Linked DNA regions of Homo sapiens: regions 1, 2 and 4 are each linked to region 3. The links are contacts of gene promoters, found by promoter capture Hi-C in blood cells and fetal thymus (Javierre and others, 2016). All regions are on one chromosome and are shown on one strand. The core of a region is centred on a gene start or on the middle of the fragment in contact, and the rest is flanking DNA. Distances in the headings are between cores, read along the strand shown.

Region 1 (6,262 bases), core at 76-2,575, 150 kb after region 3:
CTGGCACTACCTGGACCCTTCAACCCGATACCCGGCTCTGGGCATCCAGCCACCAGCCACACCAGAAGCGAGTGTGGGAAAGGGATAGGCAGTGCCTGGGGATGCCAAACCCACCATCCCGACCGCCCTTGGGGGCTCCCCTGGGGAGAGGCGACCTCCACAGGCAAGCAAACCTTGATGGTGGATCCTGGGGCCTGAGGCGCCCAGAGGGACGCACGTGGGTCTCATCTGCTGGTGGTTTTTGTGAAGAGCACAGGTGGGGACTCTGAGCTCCACCCAGGTACTGACTGCCTCTGGGGGCCCAGGGCCCAAAGTGCTGGAGGACAGCTAGAGCCCAGCAAGGCCTCCCAAGGCAGGGAGAGGAGACAGCCGGCCATGTCTGGGGGTGTCCGTCCCACCCCTCAGGTCTGGCGTGTGCTCCATGGGGGAATGCAGGAACACAATGGGCCCTGGAGGGAGGGCTCTGCCGCCGACCCTGGGAGAACCCCAGGAAGCCTGCGTGCTCAGCTGGGGCCACGGGTCAGGGCAGCAGGCTCAGGTGGGCCTCGAAGCTGGTACTGGGGCCTCCGGCAGGGCGGGACGGGGCTGCGGCTCACCATGGAATAGCCGTACACGTGAATCTTCTTGTCCTGACTCTGGTGGGAGATGCGCCCGCCGCCCAGACACTCACAGTCGCAGCCTTGCTTCTGCATGTCGCCCGACACTTTGTCGTAGATGTCCGCTGGGATGGGAGGGCGGCCTCAGGACGTGCCCTGGCCGCCCTTGGAGGCCGCGGGAGGAACTCCCAGCCGAAGGGGTCTGAAATCCCAGCTCTGAACAGCCCCTTCCCCAGGAGAGACGAAGCCCCTTGAGGCTGGGACAGGGATGAATGAGCGAAGGAGGGTGGAACCGGGGAGGGCGCGGGAACTGGGAGACTGCTGGGGAGGGTGTCAGGCCGTGTCACGCCCTTCCCGCCCAGGACCTCAGCCTGGGTCAAACCTAGCAGGGGCAGGACTCGGAGCAGAGCGCAGTCCGCTACGGCCCGCAGCCCCGCCCCCGCCCCGCCAGCCCCGCCCCTGCCTCGTCAGCCCCGTCTCCGTCCCGCCAGCCCCGCCCCCGCCTCGCCAGGCGTGCCCCTGGCATGCCCGCAGGTCCCGCCCTCACCATGGTACTCAGCCCACTTGTAGCCGCGCACGATCTCCTTGCTCTCTGCAGCCGGAGCCCCGGAGCGGGGAGCCGAGTGGACTCGGATCAGCACATACTTGAAGACGCCGTCGGAGTCGATGTCCACATCAGGAATGAGAGCGAGGTCCGCCACCGCCATGTTCCTCCTCCCGGAGTCCCCTCCTCCCACCCGACCCGGGGGCCGCTTGTACTGCGGGAGGCGGGCTCTGCGAGAGCGACGACCAATCCCGTCGGGGAATGCTTCCCAAGGCCCAGCGCCTCAGCCAATTGTACCGCCGACCGAGGCACGTGCTGACCAATCGCAATCCAGTTCCTTGCCGCCTTGCGGCTCCGCCAGCCCCGCTTAAAGGAAACGTGGAATCGGGAATGGGTGGTGATGAAATCCAGCCAACGGAGAAGTTCCTCTCCAGCGGGGTCCGGTGGCACCCTTGGAACGGGGCAGTTAGGCGGCCCGCGAGGCTGGGGCAACGAGGGAGGCCTGAGGGACTTGCCAGCCCTGACCTCCTGTCCCGCACGTAGTCCGAAGACCACCCTCCCCGTGGCCCCCACCGCCCAAAGGCCTCCCTCTCTCCCCCTCCCACCGCCCGAAGGCCTCCCCCCTCCCCGCTCTCCACCGCCCGAAGGCCTCGCTCTCCACCCCCTCCACCGCCCGAAGGACTCCCTCTCTTCCCCGTCCACCGCCCGAAGGCCTCTCCCTTTCTCCTCTCCACCGACCGAAGGCTTCCGTCCCCAACCCCGCTACCGGTACAAGGAGGCAACGGCAGCCGCTACATTCAAGTTCTATTTTACTTGGTTCGAAAGCTCTTGCCCCCTGGAAATTATTCCGGTCCAGGGGCGTTCCCGGCCGGCCCTCAGGGGTGGGGCCGAATGCAGAGGCCCTGGGGTAGGGGGCGCGGGGCGCGGCGGCGGGTGGGCAAGCGGGACGCCTGGCCGGTGCAGACGCGCGGGGACGAGATGGGCGTGCCGGGTGCGAAAGCAGGAGCGGAGGCGGGGGTGCCCAATTTCTCTCACTTGGTGCCCCCTCCCCTGGCTCCGAAGTAGGGCTGGGGACTCCAGGAGGGCCCTTGCGTTTGGCCTCCACCCCTCTCCCGCATACCCCACCCTCCAGAGAGCTCTGGGCGCGGACCAGGGTGCACTTGGGGGACAGGTGGAGGCCGGGCCGCCGGGCTTGCGCCTCCACGCCCGCAGTACGGCGTGCGGCCAGAGCGGGTGTGCGGGGACCTCTCGGGACAGGTCAAGCCCCCTCGGGTGGGCTTCCACGCTTACCAACTAGCTCTCTCCCTCACCTGCTCGCACCACGCTTTGCCCTCCAGGCTCCCACCTGGGAACGCCCCGTCCCTTGGTCCTTCCTCTCCTAGCCAGGTGTCAGCTCTGGCCAGGCCCAGGTGCTCTGCTTCCCCTGTTCAGGTCCCCTGCCCCTTCGGCTGGGAGACTTGCATATCGGCCTGAAGACCTCCCTGCGGTTTTTCCCAGCTCCTGCAGGGCCCAGACTGCAGCGGCTGGAGGCGAAGGGACGGCAGGGCGCGTGGCGTGGTTAGTGTGCTGGCTCCGACCAGCGGGAACGCACTGCGCACCGTCCGCCCTGCCCACCGCCTCGGCGGGACGCGCTCGCGCACACGGACGCACAGAGGTCGACCAGGGTGTTCTCCAGCGAGGAGGCAACACAGCCGCGGGAGGCGGGGCGGGGCGTGTTTAAAGTGACAGACTGGGCTTTGGTTACGTCGGGCTTCTGGACGAGGGGAAACCGGAGTCGGGGAGGCTCCAGCGAGAGCCCCGCGGACCGACGGGGACCGGATCTCTACGGGTGGGGTCTGTGCAGTAGTGACCCCTCCGAGTGAAGGCAGAGCTCGGCGGTCCTCAGGCCCACCCCGCCTCCCAGCGGGGAGCACCGAGGGCGAGGACCGACTTCTTCTGGGGATCCTCGAGGGCGAGCTGGGAGAGGGAGGAGGCCCGGAGGAGGGAGAGGGGTTGCTGGGGGTGGGAAGGCGAAGGGCCTGTGAGGAACACTACGGGGACGAAGGGCCGGGGGGTGGGGGCCTGGGCGGAGCTGGAGGCCGAACTGAGCGGAGCTTGGAAGGCTGGGGAATTAGAGGCGGGGCCTAGAAGAAGTCGGGGTGGGGCCCTGGCGGGGCTCGGGGGCGGCCCTGGGTGGGCCGGGCGGGGCCTGAGTGGGCAGGGCAGGGTTCGGGCCAGCGCCTGGGCTAGGCCTGGTGGGCCCGGCGCCTCACATGATGTCGTCCAGCAGGTTGGCGCTGGCCACCCAGTCGAGCGCGCGCGGCTCGGAGGCGGCCATGATCATGCACATGAAGGGGCGGCCGGTGCGCCGGTCCGTGGGGTAGATGGTGGTGGGCGTGAAGCGCCTGTTGGCCTCGACGAACTCGCAAAGCTGCTCGTAGACGCGCGGGAACTCGTGGCGCAGGAAGACGCCGCGCAGCCGCAGCTCGCGCTGGATGTGGATGAAGGCCACCTCGCGCGCGCGCCGGCCCGCCTCGCCGTCCTGATCCAGGCCCGCCGTGCCCGGCGGTGGCGTCAGGATCAGCGTCTCCATGTCGGGCTCGCGGCTCCGCGCCGGGGGCGGCCGCGCGGGGCTGCCGGCCGCCAGCGCTACCTTGGCGAACTTGCGCACTGTTGGCCCGTGGCTGCGTGGCGCGGGCGCGGGCAGGGCCGGTGTCCCCGGTGGCGCGGTGCCGGGTCCCACGGCCACGGACACGCTGAGCAGGAAGCACTCTGCCGGTTCGTAGAGGCGCCCAGCGGCCGCCAGCTCGCGCGCGTAGCTGCCCAGGGGCGCCGCGTGTGTGGCCAGCTCACGCAGCGATAGGTAGGTGGGGGATAGCAGCAGCCCCTCCAGGCCAAAGCGCAGGAAGTTGTCGGCCGAGCCTGGACTTGGGAAGCCCAGGAAGAGCACGCCGCGGCCGCGCGACAGGAAGCCGACACGCGCGATGCGCGAGAAAGCGCGGTGCACCGGGCCGCTGTCGCGGCAAAACTGCAGTACGTGGCGGCACACGCTGCCCACGCGGCCGTACACGCAGCGCGCCTTGTGGGCGTCCCAGTCCTCGCGGCGGCACAGGCGCGAGCAGTAGTAGGTGTAGCAGCTGTGGCAGGACTTGAAGTAGAGGCAGGCGTTGAACATGGTCTCGGTGCGCCGGCAGCGCGCATTGGAGCAGGTCATCAGGTCGTCCTCGTCGGCGCTGGGTTCGGGGGACGCGTCGGCCGCCTCTCCCGGGGCCGCGGGCTCCTCGGCGCTGCCGGCCGAGGCGGGGGGCGAGCGTGGCGGCGCCAGCGCGGGGGCCCCGGAGCCCGCGGGCCGCGAGTCCAGCAGTCGGCGCAGTTGGGGGCCCAGGCAGTCGGCCGCGGGCTCTGAGGCCTGGCCGGCGGTGGGTCGCGAGTCGATGACCAGGTCCGTGATGAGCTCGTCCAGCTGCTCTAGGCTCCGCTGGCGGCCAGAGGTGGGGCCGTCGGGGGCCGCGTGGGGAGGTGGCCGCGTGCGGCCCCCGGGCAACTCCCAGGCCCTGGCGCTCGGGCGCTCGGTGGCGCGCAGGTCATTGTCAGTGATGGTGATCTCGGGCGTCACGTACCAGTTGCGGCCCAGGCCCTCGCCCGCGCGGCCCTTCTCCGTCAGCGACGTCTCGGACAGGGACAGTGCGGCGTAGCGTCTGGGAGAGGTGGACAGGTTCACGACGACGGGCGGGCGCCGGCCTTCGGGGGACACGCCTCGCGGCTCCCGCACCTCGCGCCCCAGCAGGTTCTCGTAGCTGCGGCCGCGGCCCAACGGGTCTTCTCGGCGCGGCCCCGGGGCCAGAATGTTGTCCCAGGAGCGCGAGTAGTGGCGGCTGTCGGTGGCCAGCCGGGGCGGACTGGTGCCGGTGCCGCCGTGCCAGGAGGCGAGCAACGGGTCGGGGTCAGAGGGCGGCACCACTTGCAGGGTGCGGTACGGTCGCGGGCCCCAGTCCGCCCAGGCCGGGCTGCTGCGCGGGTGCGGGTACGTCCGAGCCAGGACGTCACGCTCGCGGTACCTTCCGAAGTCCTCCGTGTAAAAGGGGCGGGCGGTGGAGTGGGCCCGGGGCTCCTCGGGGACATAGCGGGGCCCGTAGGGCAGGCCGTAGGCTCGTGGAGCCTCCCCATAGTAGGAGCGGGAGGGCGGTTCCTGGATTGGGAAGGTGCGCACCTCTCCTGCGTAGTAGCCGCCCATGCGCCTTGGACTGGGCCCCGAGAGCTCCTCGGACGGATAGGGCCTGGGGTAGTAGGCGTCGAAGGTTGGGCCGGGACTGGCTGCAAAGCTGCCCCGGAAGCCTTGGGGCTCCTCTGTATAGAAGAACTGGGTGGGGCCCGGCGGGGTGGTGAAGGGCAGACTGCGGCGCTCGGCGTAGTCCCGGGGCCCAGGCAGGGGCCCGTCGCAGTAGAACGCCCGGGGATCCGCACAGTATGAGTCGCTGGGCGTCGGGGTGCGCGACAGCGCCATGTGGCGGGGCCCGGGCACCGTGAGGCCGTGGAACTGCGGGGCGGGGCGGGCCCAGTGCGCGGCCTCGGTGGGCCCGCAGGACCGCGAGCCCCGGGTGGCGTGCTGGAGCACTGCGTCGTCTGGCTTGATGTCCAGGCGGCAGCGCACGTGGGGGGCGGGACCCGCGGGTGGCTCGGGCGGTGCGCAGCGGCCCGCGGCGGCGCACAGGGGCGCGACGCGGCCGGGGCCGCCCCGCTGCGGCTGCAACTTGATGGGATGCAGCTCGTTGGCAAGGGCGCGGAGCGCCGGGTACGCGGGCTCCCGGCGCGGCGATGCCTCGGCCCGCGCCGCACGCTGGGCCTCCCGCCCTCGGCGGGGCAACACCGGCGGCGAGGCGGGCGCGGGCGTCAGGCCCGGGGGCGCGCGGGGCGCACTCTTGGAGCGGGCGCGGCGGCGTGGCTCGGCTTCGCGGGTCCGGGCGCGCGGCACAGCGGACTCCGGCGGCGGTGGCTCCGGCAGGGTCTCCATGGCCGGCCCGTCCAGCGCCTCCAGGAAGTCGAAGCTGCGGCAGTGGCGCTTGTTGAAAGGCGCGGGCTCAGCAGGCCGGGCCACGGATCGCTCACATGGCGAGCACTTGGACGCGGGTCCCGGGGTCGCCAC
Region 2 (3,967 bases), core at 1,037-3,536, 250 kb after region 3:
CATCTTCACTCAGCTGGAGTTCGGGGACGAGCCCTTCAACACCGTGGAGCTGTACAGTAAGTGTGCTGTGCGGGGCCCACGTAGGGAGCTGTGTGGTGCGTGGGCCACTCGGGGCCCACGTTGGGAGCTGTGTGGTGCGTGGGCCGCTTGGGGGCCGCGTGGGGAGCTGTGTGGTGAGTGGGCCGCTCGGGGGCCATGTGGGGAGCTGTGTGGTGAGTGGGCCGCTTGGGGCCACATGGGGAGCTGTGTGGTGAGTGGGCCGCTCGGGGGCCATGTGGGGAGCTGTGTGGTGGGTGGGCCGCACAGGACCACATGCAGGCCAAGTTCCCCCACCTTGAGGCTCGCTGCACTGGAGGTGGCTTTGGAAGGACCGGGGCCAGCATCCCAGGGCAGGTGGCCTCCTTCCTGACCCTTCCCAGCCCCTCCCCGGCCCCTCCCCAGCTCTCAGAGGTTGCTTCCCCCTGCACTGCCCTGGTGCCCCCAGGTCTGACGGAGACAGCCAGCCAGGAGGCCATGGGGCTCTTCACCAAGTGGAGCAGGAGCCTGGGCTTCCTGTCACAGTAGCAGGCCCAGCTGCAGAAGGACCGTGAGTGTCCACCGGAGCAGCCTCGGGGGAGGCTTGGGGCAAGTTCTGGAGCCCACAGGGCGTGATGGGGTGACAGAGACCCTGGGGTTGATTCTGGCTTCTGCCTGACTCAGTCGCCCTGAAGGAGTCAGGCAGGCTGAGGGGGTCTTCACCTGCCCCTGCCCAAAGTCAGGCCTGGGGGTCTTGTCCCCACGGCAGGCGAGTCTTGTGGGTGGGGCCCTGGGGTGCTGGGGGGCTCAGTCCTTTTTCACAGCCAGTCTTGCCTCCCCTTCTAGTCACCTGTGCTCACAAGATCCTTCTGGTAAGCCGCCATCCTGAGCCTCACCCTGGGCTCTCTTGGGGGAAGGGGGTGGGGGAGGCCACCCTACGCACAGTGGGTGGGAGGACCCTCTGCCCAAGCCCACGGGGTTCATGGCTCCACTGTCTCTAAGGCAGCTGAGGGTGTGGAGGAGCCTCCATGGTGGGCTGGGCCCCCTCACACTCCTCTTGGTTTTCAGTGAGTGCTGCGTCCCCAGTAGGGATGGCGCCCACAGGGTCCTGTGACCTCGGCCAGTGTCCACCCACCTCGCTCAGCGGCTCCCGGGGCCCAGCACCAGCTCAGAATAAAGCGATTCCACAGCAAACCAAGGATGCTTTTGACTGGGGGCCAGCCGGGGAATTGCGGGGAGGATGGCGGGGGTCGTCACCAAGGGCCAAGCCACAGAACCATAGAGCCAGCTGCAAAGAAGACGCGTGCCCAACCCAGTCCCTTGCCAGAGCCCCTCTGGGTCTTCAGACACCCAAACTCAGGCCCGGGCTCAGAGGCGGGGGCTGGTCAGAGGACACAGCCTGGGAGGAAGCCAGCAGTGAGCTCCACCAGGACCGCAGCTGGGGTGCCAGAGGCTCCAAGGACTGCCCAGGACAAGAGAGAGGTGGCTGGTGGGGCTCAGAGCAGCCCCTGACTCCCCAGGCTCAGGCTTCTCTGGGCTGGGGTTGTGTCTCTTGCCTGGGCAGGGGCAGGGACCCCAGACACCTGAGCCTGCAGGTCCTCCTGTGTTCTGATGGGTGTGGGGGGCTGCGCTGCCTGCCGTCCTGGGAGAAGCACAGGCCATGGGGGTCTCGGGGCTGGATGGGGGGCTGGGGACTGTGTGAGGCTCATGCTGGAGTGAGGCGAGGTGCACACAGATGCCTTGACCTGCAAGGCTGGGCATGCACACGCATGCACATGTGAGCACACACCCACACATGCACACACACACATTCATGGGCACGGGCACACAGCCCCGGCCCGCCCTTCGGCACCTGCTCAGGTGCTTGGTGCCAGGCCCTCAAGAAGGTGGTGGGGGCTGTGTGTGTGGCTGCCGCGCAGAGCTCACCATGTCCACATCTGCCCCAGAAGGGCCACGACCAGCCCTTTGCCTGTCACCTGGGAGGTCTAGGATGAGGGCCAGGGCTTAATGAGTCTCAGGGGCACACACAGTGACCCCAGGCCGGGCACTGAGGGCAGGAGGGTCCTGGGGCCTCAGAGGGGCCTCTGTCTGCCAGGGCAGCCCAGGCCAGCAGTGACCACCAGGTGGGGCAGTGCCGGCTTCCCTGGAGTGTCTGGGGGTGGTCCCTGGGCGGGGAGAGGGTAGCAGAGCCCAAGGCCACACCTGTTGCCTCCCTCCGCTCCCTCCCCTCCCTCCTCTCCCGACACAGGCTGGCGGCTCCAGAGAGGTTTAAACACTGGCCTTGGCGGCTGAGGGAGGAGGGTGAAGATGAGGCAGGGGCTGCTGGTGCTGGCGCTGGTGCTGGTGCTGGTGCTAGTGCTGGCTGCAGGGTCCCAGGTGCAGGAGTGGTACCCCAGGGAGTCCCACGCCCTCAACTGGAACAAGGTGAGCCATGTGCCACTGGTCCCTGAGCCGGGCGCCGGCTCTGGAGCTGGAGCAGGCTCCTGCACAGTCTCCCGGCAGCCGCCCAGGAGCAGGGCTACCAGCAGTTCCAGGCACGGGCGCTGCCCACCTGGCCTCTCCCACTGCAGCCTCCAGCACAGGGGCCCCGCAAGTTGCAGGGCAAAGGCAGGGAGCCTCGAGGGGGTTCGGGGGCCCAGGGGGGTCAGGGAGGGCCAGGGTGGAGGGGCCCAGAGAGCTGTGGCCGAGGAGGTCGGGAGACGCCCAGAGTGCAGAGTGGGTGTGGAGCAAGCGGGGCATATTCTGTAGCGGGAGGGCCCGGGCACCTGCTGAGTGAGCCGTGGGAGCAGCACTCATTGGCACGGCGGTGCCCAGGGCGCTAGGGTTGGCAGCAGGCAGAGTTGGGGGCCGGGGGCCGGCAGGAAGGGAAGTGGCCGAGCAGTACCCAGCCCCCAGGAGGCCATGTGGGAAGGAGCCGGGGCCTCTGAGGTAGGGGGCCTCCCACCTGCTGGCGCCCACAGCCCAGCCCTTTGCTGCCTGGGGTCCCTGACCAGCCGGGCACCTGCTTCTCTGCAGCCCTGCTCCAGTGGCCAGGGCTTGAGTGGCCGGGACCGAGGCGGCACCTGGGCGGAGCTGGGACTCCGGCTCACAGAAGGGTCATTTGTCTCCTGGGTTCTCTAGCTGGGAACCTCGGGGGTGGGGACAGCCCCCGGTGGCAGCTCCTGTCCCCGCCCACACATCCGCTGCGCAGTTTTCAGGGTTCTGGTACATTCTGGCCACTGCCACTGATGCCCAGGGATTCTTGCCGGCCAGGGACAAGAGGAAGCTGGGGGCGTCCGTGGTAAAGGTGAACAAAGTGGGCCAGCTCCGCGTGCTCCTCGCCTTCAGACGGTGAGTGGGCAGCGCCCCCCAGGCAAGGGTCTCCCCTTCCAGGAGGAGGGAGCTGCCTCGGGGCTGGAAAGGAGTCTGGGAGGAGCCTGTCTGTCTGGAAGTTCCACAAGAACCGTCCCCCCACTTCCTCCCCCTAAACTCAGAGGAAGCCACCTGCAGCCCCTGGGACCCCACATGGGTGGGTGTTGGGAGGAAGCTGCCTGCAGACCTTGGGACCCCACATGGGTAGGTGTTGGGAGGAAGCCGCTTGCAGCTCCTGGGCCCCACACGGGTGGGTGTTGGGAGTTTCTCTCGTGCCGTGGGACAGGCCCCAGTCCGAATTGGAAAATCCTCAAACCACAGAGCCTCAGATTGACACGAGTTGGATAGTGAAGCAAAAAACTGGGGACCTGGGGCCCCAACCTTCCCGGGTCCCACGGGAGCAGGGGCGGGACCGAGACGTGTGGGTGGGGCTCGGTGGCTGGCAGGCGGGAGGAGGGGTTCCCTGGTCTGCAGCCTGAGCCCCCGCCTTGGCCCCAGGTTGAAGGGGTGCCAGTCCCAGGAGGTGATCCTGAGGAAAGACGGGAAGAAGCCGGTGTTTGGGAACGCCTGTGCATACGCGGCGGGCCCGAGGGAAGGACAG
Region 3 (5,930 bases), core at 2,253-4,752:
TACTAAAAATACAAAAATTAGCCAGGCGTGGTGGTGGGCGCCTGTAATCCCAGCTACTCGGGAGGCTGGGGCAGGAGAATCGCTTCAGCCGGTGAGGCGCGGGTTGCAATGAGCCGAGATTGAGCCATTGCACTCCAGCCTGGGTGACAGTGAGACTCCATCTTAAAACAACAACACCGCGGGGCGCGGGAGCTCACGCCTGTAATCCCAGCACTTTGGGAGGCCGAGGCGAGCGGATCACGAGGTCAGGAGATCGAGACCATCCTGGCTAACGCAGTGAAACCCCGTCTCTACTAAAAATACAAAAATTAGCCAGGTGTGGTAGCGGGCGCCTGTAGTCCCAGCTACTTGGGAGGCTGAGACAGGAGAATGGCGTGAACCTGGGGAGGCAGAACTTGCAGTGAGCCGAGATTGTGCCACTGCACTCCAGCCTGGGCGACAGAGCAAGACTGCATCTCATTAAAAAAAAAAAACAAAAAAAACAGAAGCTCACTGCCTAGCAGTCTGGAGGTCAGACATAGCACCTAGGCTTGGGCAGGGCTGCTTCCTCCCAAGGGCCTTGGAGAGCATCCGCTTGGCTCCCAGGCTTACAGATGTGCCACCCTGATTTCTGCCTGCGGCCCTCCCTGTGCATCTGTGTCCAAACTCGCCTTTCTATACTGACATCAGTCATATTGGATCAGGGCACATCCTACTCACCACATTTTAACTTGATAACTTCTATAAAGACCCTATTTCAGCCGGGTGCGGTGGCTCACACCTGTATTCCCAGCATTTTGGGAGGCCAAGGTGGGTAGATCTTCTGAGGTCAGGAGTTCGAGACCAGCCTGATCAACATGGTGAAACCCTGTCTCTACTACAAATACAAGGAAAAAAAAAAAAAGCTCAGCGTGGTGACGTGTACCTGTAATCCCAGCTACTCCAGAGGCTGAGAAAGTAGAATTGCTTGAACCCAGGAGGCAGAAGTTGCAGTGAGCCGAGATTGCACCACTGCATTCCAGCCTGGGCAACAGAGCAAGACTCTGTCTCAAAAAAAATGTTAAAAAGCCCCTGTTTCCACATAAGGTCACATTCTTTATTTTTTTTCCAAGATGGAGTCTTGCTCTGTTGCCCAGGCTGGAATGCAGTGGCACTATCTCTGCTCACTGCAACTCTGTCTCCCGGGTTCAAGCACTTCTCCTGCCTCAGCTTCCCGAGTAGCTGGGATTACAGGTGCCTGCCACTATGCCTGGCTAATTTTTGTATTTTTAGTAGAGACGGGGTTTCACCATGTTGGTCAGGCTGGTCTCAAACTCCTGACCTCAGGTGATCCACCCCCCTCGGCCTCCCAGACTGCTGGGATTACAGGCATGAGTCACCGTGCCCGGCCCATATAAGGTCACATTCTGAGGCACTAGGGGTTAGGACTCCAGCCTAAGAATTTAAATTTAAGGGGACACAAGCCACGCCATTTACCTAATCTCAGGCCCTCCCTGCAGTGGGCATGCATGGAGTCACCTTTTCCGTCCTTCTCCCTGGACACAACTGGAGTCTCCCATAGACAGGGTGGTGGCCGTGCCACGGAGCCACGCCACGCCACGCCACGCCACGCAGTGGGGCAGCCAGCACTCACTTGCCCTTCACAGGGAAACCGGCCGGGTGTGGCAGCTCGCGCCTGTAGTTCCAGCACTGTGGGAGACCAAGGCAGGTGGGTCACTTGAGCCCATGAGGTGGAGACCAGCCTGGGCAACATGGCAGGACCCTGTTTCTAGTAAATAAATGAATTGATTAAACCATAAAAAAAAAAGGAAGCCACCGGGCTGATTCCCAGGTGGCGAGGGCACAGGGGGGTGTTGGATGGCCACTGCCGCTCCACAGTCCACAGCCCACGCCCACAGAACGCAGTGGGGCCGCTGCAGCGGTGAACCGAGTCTTGTTGGTTTGTTTCTTGAGACGGGCGTGAGGTGAATGGTCTTCCTGTGTCTTGTTTTCTTTTTCCTTCTGAGCCACCGGTTCACGGCCTCTGTCCGTGCCGTCATTTTTCCTGTGGGTTTGTGAGGGTGCGTCTGTCGGTGTTAAAGACACAGGATGCCGGGGCAGCAGAGGGGGCTGGGGGCCTGGGGCTTCTCTGTGGTTGGCCATTTGCCTGCCAGGGATGTGGGAAACCAGCAAGCGGAGCTATAACCACAGTGTCCAGAAAGAGCTGAAATACTAGGGCTTGGAATCGAGGTGGAGGCCGGATGGAGGGAAATTGAGGTTCAGGACACCAAAGGATGGGGCAGCCACATGGTATTTCCAAGGCTCTGTGTCCAGGAGCCCCGACTGGCGTGGTATCCAGAGAAGCATCAGGCTGGGCTGACTGGGGCAGCACTGGAGTGTGTTCCACCGGGGACGGATGAGGGGCCCGTACCAAGGCCCTGGGGAGAAGGTGAGCAGGAGAGCAGTGCCACCTCAGCTGCCCTGTCCAGGCTGGTGAGGCACCACACCGCCTGGGGGAGGTGTGGCCAGGCCAATCCTGTGGGCACCCCAGGTCTCTGGGTGGAATCTCCCCTCGGTGTACCTCCCTGGGGCTGCACCCTAAAGCGTCAGGGCCAGGTGGGAGGAAGGCACAGTTGGCGACCCCAAAGGGCCAGACTGAACTGTGGGTTCCAATCACGCCAGGAGGCTCAGCGCAGGCTCACACCTGTGGACCACCACCCTCCCCTGGCCTCTTTCTTCCAGCCACGCAGGCTGTGGCTTCTAACCCCTCTCCTGCTGCTTCTTTTTAAAGGTTAAGGGGTTGGGGGTAAGAAACCTGCGCTGAGCGCCAGTGGGAGGGATGGGAGGTGGGGTGGAGACCTGCACTGCCGGCCAAACACCAAAGCCAGGCTGGCCTCCCCGCCCTGTTGCGGGCAGGTCTGGAATTTGAGCCCTGCCCTGAGCGGGGAGGGCCCTGCCTGACTGCTCCGTAGCTGGGAAGGGGCGGCTCCCCCAGGTGGGCTTATCACCCTCCCGATGCCCTGGTGCTGCAGATGGGGAACTGAAGCCAGGCTGGGCAGGCCATTTCTCCTGCTCACCCACACCCACTGGCTTTCTGGGCTGGGAGCCCTGACAAGGGGTATTTGCGGAAGGGAGAGCCATAGGGCAGGGTCTGAGCTGGGTTCACGGTGGAGGTGGTCCTGACCCAGAGCCGCCCCCTTCCCAGGTGACACCCCCTGCACCCTTCTGGCCTGTAGGCTCTCCCTATGCCCTGCCCCCTGGTCTCCACCCACCACGCTGGCTCCCAGCACACTCAGTACCGGGTGGGCGGATCTCCGTGCACACCAGACTCAAGTCCAGGGCAGCCCCCCACACCATTCCGCCACCCTGAGGTCACACCCTCAGGCTCAGACACCCCGGGGCCGGGCTGGCGTTGCTCAGGCAGCTGGTTCTGCGCGCTGGGCAGCTTCATCTGCCCGCCTAGGTGGCTCCACGGGGCGGGCCCCTCGGCCAGGGAGGGCGGGGCGCACAGGGAGACTTAAAGAGCTCCCCAGGTCCCCACCCGCGCCTGACCGCGGCAGCTCCCACCATGGCGGAGACCAAGCTCCAGCTGTTTGTCAAGGTGCAGGGCGGACTCAGCTGCGGGGAGGGTGTCTGGGAGGAAGCGCTTTTCTGGGCTTTGCTTTCTGTGGCAGGCTGTGGGGTGGGCCTCCCAGTAATGTCTGAGCCCCTTCCTGTGGGTGGCTAGGGGGACTCAGGCAGCCCTACAGAGGCTGAGTAAAGTGGGACCCAGCGAGTCACCCAGAGAGGGGTCAGTGGCCCTGGTCCTGCTCCCAGCCTTGGCTCCTGGGCCCAGCCCAGTCTTCTGGAGGAGAGCTCCTTGGTGGGGAGGTACCAAGCAGGCTGCCAACAGTGGAGCTTACGGTCGGTGTTCCAGGATGGGGGGTGCTGGGCCAGGCAGCCCCATCAGCTCTCAGGTCGGGGACTGGGGTGGGGGACTGATGTGCTGTTGGCCACAGTGCCCAGTCTCATGTGTGAATCACTCAGAAAACAGCTTGTGAGGCCCACCCCACCCCTGCAACCAGCTTTTGGGGACTGAGCCCAGGGGCCTGGCCTCTGTCCAGGCTCTGACAAGATTCCAGGGGCCAAGCCTGCCCCAGGCCTCAAGGCTCCCAGCAGCTCTGCCCCCCTCCCCACGTTCTGGGGACCAAGTCAAGGGCCCTCACTGGGCACTTGGAAGTCGCGCCGACCAAGCTGGAGCCCTGGCGTCCCTCCAATCCCACTGGCAGTGGGAGGCGGGTCCCGCCCAGCCTGGCGGCAGGATGCCTGGGTCTGCTTCCAGCCCTGACCCCCCACCCCCGCTCCACCCACCCAGGCGAGTGAGGACGGGGAGAGCGTGGGTCACTGCCCCTCCTGCCAGCGGCTCTTCATGGTCCTGCTCCTCAAGGGCGTACCTTTCACCCTCACCACGGTGGACACGCGCAGGTGAGGCCCCATCCTGTGGACCCCCGCCTGGCCTCGCACACTGGTGGGCCGGCCTCCTCCCACCCCGCTGCTGCCCGCAGGTCCCCGGACGTGCTGAAGGACTTCGCCCCCGGCTCGCAGCTGCCCATCCTGCTCTATGACAGCGACGCCAAGACAGACACGCTGCAGATCGAGGACTTTCTGGAGGAGACGCTGGGGCCGCCCGAGTGAGAGCCCCGGCAGGGTGGGAGGGGAAAAGAGGGGGGCCCAGGGAGGACGCGCGCAAGACAGAGCCCAGGAAGGCGCTGTGGGGGTACTGTGGGGCCGGGACGGGGCTGCCCCCAGTCTAATGGAGTCCCACCCCCTCATCCCGCAGCTTCCCCAGCCTGGCGCCTCGTTACAGGGAGTCCAACACCGCCGGCAACGACGTTTTCCACAAGTTCTCCGCGTTCATCAAGAACCCGGTGCCCGCGCAGGACGAAGGTGAAGCGGGGTCAGGGGGTCGGGTGCCCAGGCGGGAGGGCGCCCTGGGCCTGGTCCTCACCGCGCCGCCTGCCCCCTAGCCCTGTACCAGCAGCTGCTGCGCGCCCTCGCCAGGCTGGACAGCTACCTGCGCGCGCCCCTGGAGCACGAGCTGGCGGGGGAGCCGCAGCTGCGCGAGTCCCGCCGCCGCTTCCTGGACGGCGACAGGCTCACGCTGGCCGACTGCAGCCTCCTGCCCAAGCTGCACATCGTCGACGTGAGCACGGAAGGTGGGCGGGCGGGAGGGTGACCGCGGCGCGCCTGGGGGACGGCAGGTCCTGACCGCGCCCCGCGATCCTGCCCGCAGACGGTGTGCGCGCACTTCCGCCAGGCGCCCATCCCCGCGGAGCTGCGCGGCGTACGCCGCTACCTGGACAGCGCGATGCAGGAGAAAGAGTTCAAATACACGTGTCCGCACAGCGCCGAGATCCTGGCGGCCTACCGGCCCGCCGTGCACCCCCGCTAGCGCCCCACCCCGCGTCTGTCGCCCAATAAAGGCATCTTTGTCGGGAGTGAGGGTGTCCTGACATCTGAAGGGCCAGAGGTCTCGGGATCACTTCCCATCCCCAAACCCCAGGGTGGGACGCTCAGCCCGATAGCCCAGAACCACAGGGGCAGGAGCGCCGGGGGTCGGGCCGGTCCCATCCTCCACGCTAAGAAGGCGCAGACTCCAGGCCTCCTGCAACCGGTGGCCTCAGGGATCTCCAGGACCGGACTGGGCTCCCAAACCAGTCAGGCCGGGGTGGGGCGGGGTGCCCCAGGTGGATGGGGGCTGGCACATTCCTCAATCCTGTCCCGGGGCAGGCGCTCCCCTCCCCGCAGGGCACTTCCAGTGTCTCAGGGTCTACACGGGACTTCTGTCTGCATCCTCCCACGGGGCTCCGTGCCCTACCTGGGTGCGGCCTGGGAGGGTGGGAACAAAGTTCTAAGCCTTGGGGAGCCCTGGCCCTGCCTGGCTGGGCCCCTCTCAGCTCCTGGGCTGGCAGGGCTGGAATAGCTGGACGGTC
Region 4 (6,142 bases), core at 3,056-5,555, 230 kb before region 3:
AGACCTGGCTCAGCTAGGGCTGTGGACACGCTGCAAGCCCTCGTGCAGTCTCTGGGCAGACCCGGGACTTGCAGGCCAGGGGAAAGTGTGGACGTCATGAGGCAGTGGCATCCCTGTCCTTGCAGTGTCCACAGTGACTGTGTGTGTGTGTTCTCGGGTCCACATAAAGGGGCAGATGCCCTGTGTCCAGCTACAACCCCCTCCCAAAGGAGCCTGCAGCAAAGAAGAATTGCTGGGAGGAAGATCACCCTGCTTTATTGCCTGGGCCTTAAGGTAATCAGGGGTGTCCCTCTCCAGCCAGGACCTGGGATTCCGTTTCAGGAGCTCGGGCTGAACGGCCACCTTCCTGGTGGGTCTGAGCCCCAGTGCCTGGTGTGAAGGGGCAGACGCCCATGACAACAGCCACCCCGCATGTCCCGGCATGTCCCGGCACTGTGTGAGCCACATTTGCTGAAGTCTGGGTCCTGGCCCTGGCAGGGTGGGCTGGGCTAGGAGATGACACAGCAGCAGCAGCTGTGGCAGCGGCAGAAGGGGGGGCAGTGGCAGCAGTGGCAGCAGGGGCAGCAGCAGCAGTGGTGGGCGATGTCATCCCCGCGCCCCGCGGGCGGAGGGCCAGCGTAGGTCAGTCCGGCCTGGCGCTGACTGCTGCTGTAGGGGTTGCCAGGCTGCTGCCAGGCCTGCTGGTTCTGGATGGGGGCAGCCCCCTGGTTACCCTTGGCGCCCTTGGGCCCTGGGACCTCGGTCGGCTGCAAGAGGTGGGTTGGCTCTGGGGCACAGGGCCCCACTGGCAGGGGCTGCATCTCCGAGGATGAGGAACAGGTGGAAGCCACCTCTAACTGCTGCCCCAGGTCAGGCCGCAGGTGAGCCCGGGGGATGCTGATGTGGGCATATGGGTTCTTGACGACCATCTCTTGGGGGTCCATGGTCCAGCCTGCAGGGGTGGGCAGAGAAGACAGACATGAACTCAGTGGAGTGGGATGGCTGCCCACGAGCCTGCGGCCCAGGAAAGCCCCCACCAGGAGCAGCGTGCCTCGTCCAAGCTCAGCATCCCCAAGGCATCAGTGCCGGGGTGCCATCACCTCCAAATGTGTGTGCAAGGCTAGTGTCATGGGTGTGAGCCAAGTGTGAGCAAGCAGCAAGGGCCGGTGTCTCCCAGCTGCCACCCCTGCCAGGGATCCTCCCCCTCCCCTGGTGGCATTGGTCCTGGGATGGAGCTGGGAATGGGGTCGGGGAGGCTGAGAGATGGGAGAGAAGGGGGCTGACCCTGCAGTGCCCCTGAGTTCAGGGCAGTCCCGGCGGCCAAGGGCTTACCTGTGGTGGCAACACGGCAGTCTGTCCTCTCGGTCTTCTGAGCTCTAGGTCCCAGTGCCTGAGTTGAGCGACTGGCAGCCGCCTTTTCCCTCCTTGGGAGGGGCGGGGCCATGGGGCGGGGCTCAGAGATGGGGTTCCCAAGATCCCAAGAGGCCCCAGCAACTGGAGCACGACAGCTGGCCCAGCCCTCGTCCTCAGGTGGGTGGCAGCCCAGGCCTGGGCTCTGAGGGGCACTGCCAAACCAGTGACTCAGCCCCTCACATCCGGGGCATGGCCTGGGCCCTAAAGGGCATCTGCAGCTTGCCTGAGAGGAGGGCAGGAGGTGAGCCTGAGGTCACGGCTCTGGAAAGGAAGTGGGGTGAGGCCCTCAGATTCCCGGGCCTGCAGTCCCCAGCCATTGCTCACACACCTCAAAGCCCCGGCGAGGCAGGGCTTCTAAGCCTCTGAGCCTCTTCTTAGCAGAGACCAAGATGCTTGAGAGCCATTGGCTCTTGGAGGCTTTCTGCTTCTTTTCTGAGATGGAGTCTTGCTCTGTTGCCCAGGCTGGAGTGCAGCTGCGCGATCTCGGCTCACTGCAACCTCTGCCTCCCGGGTTCAAGCGATTCTCCTGCTTCAGCCTCCCGAGTAGCTGGGATTACAGGCAACCACCACCACGCCTGGCTAATTTTTTGTATTTTTAGTAGAAACAGGGTTTCACCATGTTGGCCAGACTGGTCTCCAACTCCTGACCTCAGGTGATCCGCCTGCCTTGGCCTCCCAAAATGCTGGGATTACAGGCGTGAGCCACCGCGCCCGGCCGATTTTTGAGACAGGGTCTCACTCTGCCATCCAGGCTGGGGTGCAGTGGCATGATCTGGCTCACTGCGGCCTCAACCTCCTGGGCTCTAGTGATCCTCCCACCTCAGCCTCTTGAGTAGCTGGAAGGACTACAGGTGCACCACCACGCCGGCTAATTCTTTATAGAGATGTAGGTCTCACTATGTTGCCTAGGCTCATCTCAAACTCCTGGACTGAAGTGATCCGCCTGCCTCCACCTCCCAAAGTGCTGGATTCCAGGCGTGAGCCAGCGTGCCCAGTGGCTTTTCTGCTTTTTTCACTGATAAAAAATGTTTGATTTGCACGTTTTGTCACAGGTCTTATCTTACAATCAGTGACACGGGCTTTAGACACTACTGACATTTTTAGCTCATTTCTCAAACTGCAGTTACCCTCTGGCTGGCGGGCGTGGGGGCCACACGCGCCCCCCCAGCGTCCCCACCTTGGGCCCCCCGCCTCCAGCCGAACCCAGGCTCCATCTGCACCGGCGCAGGCAGGGGTGCAGCGGGCACTGGCGAGTGCCGCGGGGACGACCCACGGCAGTGGGGCCCTTGGGGCCCAGGGGAGCACCAGGAAGGGCGGGTTCCAGTCAGACGTGGCCTGTGTAGGGCCAGTCAGACCGGTCGGGACATGAGTTCAGGCAACCCGGCCCCGATTTGGGGAGAACTGGGTGCTCCTGGGGACCCAAAACTTGAGAGGCCGGCGACGGAAGTCCACTGCGCAGGCGCCGGAAGTCCCGCCCACCTCCCTGCCTGCCACTTGAGTGGCGCCTATGGCGCATGCGCAAACAAGGCAGGAACCGGCCGTGGAAATATTATTGCCCAGAAGCCCACGCGCTCCGGGGTTTCCCGAAAGACCCGGTTCGGATGTGACCAATACTCGGCTTGGGGTTCTCCAGCTCTGAATGGCGGGTCTGAAAAGGCCTGGCCTGGGGGGCGGGGCCTCGTGGCGGGGGCGGGATCTCATCCCCTACGGGGTGGGGTCTCGCTGAGGGGGCGGGGCCTGCGGCCTGGTGCTTCCTCGGGCGCACGCCGGGTCGGTGAGCAGAGTCTGCGGCGGAGCTGGGCTCCCGGCCCTCCCCAGGCCCAGGCTGCCTCAGTTGCCCCACCATCTTGCCAGGGCCCCGTAAGGACCCCTCCAGCAGCGCCCCTGTCACCCGCACACCTCTCCCTATTGCTCTTCTGAGTGACACTCGCCCGAGGCCCCACAGAGGGGCCAAGCCAGACCCTATGCGCAGGGCTGCTCCTCCAGCCTGTTTTGCCCACGCGAGCTCCCGCACCAGCGGCACCGTCCCCTCTGGGCTCAGCACTCTGCAGGCCCTGGGGCTCTGCCTAGAGCAGGTGCGGTCTGGCCAGTCCAGCGGAGAGAGGAGCTGAAGGAGGCCAGGATGTCCAGGGCCAGGTGCGGGGCCAGAGCTGGTCACAGCGTGGCAGCGGAGGCCCTCGAAGCCCTGGTCCCCTGCCTCACGGTGACCAGCAAGCCCGAGGGCTCCACAGGCAGAAGGCGGACCCAGGAGGGCAGGGAAGCCCCGGGTGAGGAAGCGGAGAGGCCCGGGCCTGCGCGCTGGAGTGCCAGGGGCCACCCTGTCCGGGCAGGTGCGGTCCTCAGGGCCGCCTCCACCCCGCACTGGGCTGCCAGCCTGTCCTTCGCGCACTCCCACCGGACCCGTCCGTCCACCGGCCTCGGCCTTCTGATCCGCTCCGCCCGCCCCGCTCTTGCCCCTTAGAGTCACAGCGATCTATCTGAGCTACGGCACCGGGCACAGGCGGAGCTGGAGGACTCGGGGCCTTCCCATGGGGCGGGGGGCCGGGGACGGGGGAAGGCACCGGTGGGCCCTGGAACCAGCTCCCCTGGGATCCTCCGCGCAGGTCCCCTCCCTCTCACTCCAGAGTCCTGAGGCCTCCTACTGTGAGGGAGGAGAACAGCCGGATTCTCCTCCTGAATCTGGGGGGGCGGGGGCTTGACCAGGACCCAGGATCAGCCTGGAGAGAACTGGGGGCGACGCGGGGGTCCTGCCCCCCACGCAGTCCGCGGGCGAGAGCGACGCCGGGAGCGGACCGAGGGGCGGCCGGGAGGCTGGCCCCGCCCCGCGGACCCCGCGCGGGTCCCCAGACGGGGGGTGGCGCTGCGGGCGCGGGCGGGCGCCGCGCGCACTGCGGTCCCCGCGCCTCCGCCGCAGAGCGCGCCACGCTCCGCACGCACCTGCCGCCGTCGCCGCCGTGCCGAAACCCGCGCCCCGCGCCCCACGCCCGCGCCCGCGCCCCTCGGTGCCGCCCGGGCCCCGCCATCGCCTGAGGTCGCTGCGGCCGCCGCCGGAGCCGCCGGAGCCCCCCGAGCTGCCGGGCCGAGGCGCGGGCGCCGCGTCCGGGCCTGCCTTTGAGACAACCTCTGCGGCGGCGGCGCGCGGCCGGGACGCCAGGCTGGGGCAGGTGAGCGCAGGGGGCGGGGGCCGGGGGCGGACTCAGCGCCCCTCCCCACGCGACGGGGGTCGGCCCTCGGGAAGGTGCGTCTGGCCTTGGAGGCGGGGACCGGGGAGGGGGTTGGGTTCTGAGGCCCGCGGAGGTCGGGATCCCACGGCTGAGGTCAGGGTCAGAGGTCGGGCGCCCGGTCCTTTGTGCAGGGCGAGGGCTAGGGTGGGGGTGGCCGGGGCACTGCCCTCATGCCGTCTCTCACCTGCAGCTCAGGCCTGGCCCAGGCCTCGCCTCTGCTCCTGCCGCGGAGCCTGCCGCCCCGGTCCTCCTGCAGCCAGCGCTTCGGCTAGCTGCCTTCCCTGGGCGCCCTGTCCTGGAGCCATGGGGCCCACCCAGCCCCTGCCTGCCCCGATGTCCCGGCCCGCGGCCTGCTGACCTCGGCTGCAGGGGGAGCCCCCCCCGCGCCCCCTCGCCAGCCTCAGCAGCCAGAGACCCTGGGTGAGACCCTGGGCCAGACCCCCAGCCCAGGGCAGCCTCCCACCCCTCCCTGCCCCCGCCTGCCTCCCCCTCCCCCACCCCTTCCTCCTCCTCCCAGGACTGGACCAGAGAAGCCACTGTGGCCACTGGGGGGGGCCCTGCACCCCCAACTCTCGCCGGCTGTCCCTAGGAGTCCACGGGCCGTCCGGGGCCCCCCCCAGGCCTGGCGGGACCAGGATGCTGCCCTGTCACCTGCCCCCCAGCCCCACACAACGCCCCCACCCACCCGAACATCCAGTCTGACTGGAGACAGCCGGATGCCCTCTGACCCCGGGCCCGAGGCGGGCAGTGGCTGGCCGGGCCTCCTCATGTCCTGCCTGAAGGGTCCCCATGTCATCCTCAAGATGGAGGCCATGAAGATTGTCCACCCTGAAAAGTTCCCTGAGCTACCGGCTGCCCCCTGCTTCCCGCCTGCTCCCCGGCCCACCCCAACTCTGGCACCCAAGCGTGCCTGGCCCTCAGACACAGAGATCATTGTCAACCAGGCCTGTGGGGGGGACATGCCTGCCTTGGAAGGGGCACCCCATACCCCGCCACTGCCACGGCGGCCCCGTAAGGGAAGCTCGGAGCTGGGCTTTCCCCGCGTGGCCCCAGAGGATGAGGTCATTGTGAATCAGTACGTGATTCGGCCTGGCCCCTCGGCCTCGGCGGCTTCTTCGGCGGCGGCAGGCGAGCCCCTGGAGTGCCCCACCTGTGGGCACTCCTACAATGTCACCCAGCGGAGGCCCCGCGTGCTGTCCTGCCTGCACTCTGTGTGTGAGCAGTGCCTGCAGATTCTCTACGAGTCCTGCCCCAAGTACAAGTTCATCTCCTGCCCCACCTGCCGCCGTGAGACTGTGCTCTTCACCGACTACGGCCTGGCCGCGCTGGCTGTCAACACGTCCATCCTGAGCCGCCTGCCGCCTGAGGCGCTGACGGCCCCATCCGGGGGTCAGTGGGGGGCTGAGCCCGAGGGCAGCTGCTACCAGACCTTCCGGCAGTACTGTGGGGCCGCGTGCACCTGCCACGTGCGGAACCCACTGTCCGCCTGCTCCATCATGTAGTAGCGCCTGCCTGCCCGCCACTGC

What was found. The method cuts DNA at HindIII sites, captures the fragments that hold promoters and counts their contacts. A CHiCAGO score of 5 or more calls a contact.
Region 1: a contact is called between the fragment with the promoter of PHPT1 here and the fragment with the promoter of CLIC3 in region 3, in 7 of 17 cell types (M0 macrophages, endothelial precursors, total CD4 T cells and 4 more). The highest score is 7.7, in M0 macrophages.
Region 2: a contact is called between the fragment with the promoter of LCN10 here and the fragment with the promoter of CLIC3 in region 3, in 2 of 17 cell types (endothelial precursors and M0 macrophages). The highest score is 5.9, in endothelial precursors.
Region 4: the fragment with the promoter of RNF208 here is called in contact with the fragment with the promoter of CLIC3 in region 3 in 1 of 17 cell types (M0 macrophages); the score reaches 5.8 in M0 macrophages.

The regions. Positions count from the first base shown.
Region 1 is chr9:136,844,472-136,850,733 of GRCh38, reverse strand. It overlaps PHPT1 (phosphohistidine phosphatase 1), which reads right to left and starts at 1,325. Exons shown (of 3, transcript NM_014172.6): 1 at 1,144-1,325; 2 at 597-721. The coding sequence starts at 1,303. It overlaps AJM1 (apical junction component 1 homolog), which reads right to left. Exons shown (of 3, transcript NM_001080482.5): 3 at 1,933-6,262. The coding sequence ends at 3,389. RefSeq lists silencers at 1,004-1,083, 1,474-1,533, 1,714-1,793, 1,874-1,933, 2,154-2,383 and 1 more and enhancers at 1,074-1,353, 6,250-6,262. The HindIII fragment of the contact is 15,345 bases long and covers 1-6,262 here.
Region 2 is chr9:136,741,259-136,745,225 of GRCh38, reverse strand. LCN10 (lipocalin 10) reads left to right here and starts at 2,286. Exons shown (of 6, transcript NM_001001712.3): 1 at 2,286-2,439; 2 at 3,206-3,345; 3 at 3,865-3,967. The coding sequence starts at 2,323. LCN6 (lipocalin 6) reads left to right here. Exons shown (of 7, transcript NM_198946.3): 4 at 1-56; 5 at 485-586; 6 at 862-887; 7 at 1,084-1,209. The coding sequence ends at 564. RefSeq lists a silencer at 2,782-2,881. The HindIII fragment of the contact is 7,084 bases long and covers 1-3,967 here.
Region 3 is chr9:136,994,140-137,000,069 of GRCh38, reverse strand. CLIC3 (chloride intracellular channel 3) reads left to right here and starts at 3,502. Exons shown (of 6, transcript NM_004669.3): 1 at 3,502-3,559; 2 at 4,313-4,422; 3 at 4,503-4,628; 4 at 4,778-4,884; 5 at 4,965-5,140; 6 at 5,231-5,462. The coding sequence starts at 3,527. The coding sequence ends at 5,389. The HindIII fragment of the contact is 14,896 bases long and covers 1-5,930 here.
Region 4 is chr9:137,220,403-137,226,544 of GRCh38, reverse strand. RNF208 (ring finger protein 208) reads left to right here and starts at 4,305. Exons shown (of 2, transcript NM_031297.7): 1 at 4,305-4,556; 2 at 4,807-6,142. The coding sequence starts at 5,333. The coding sequence ends at 6,118. CYSRT1 (cysteine rich tail 1) reads right to left here and starts at 1,371. Exons shown (of 2, transcript NM_199001.5): 1 at 1,312-1,371; 2 at 230-931. The coding sequence starts at 923. The coding sequence ends at 489. RefSeq lists silencers at 3,053-3,402, 3,713-3,762, 4,703-4,752. The HindIII fragment of the contact is 9,789 bases long and covers 1-6,142 here.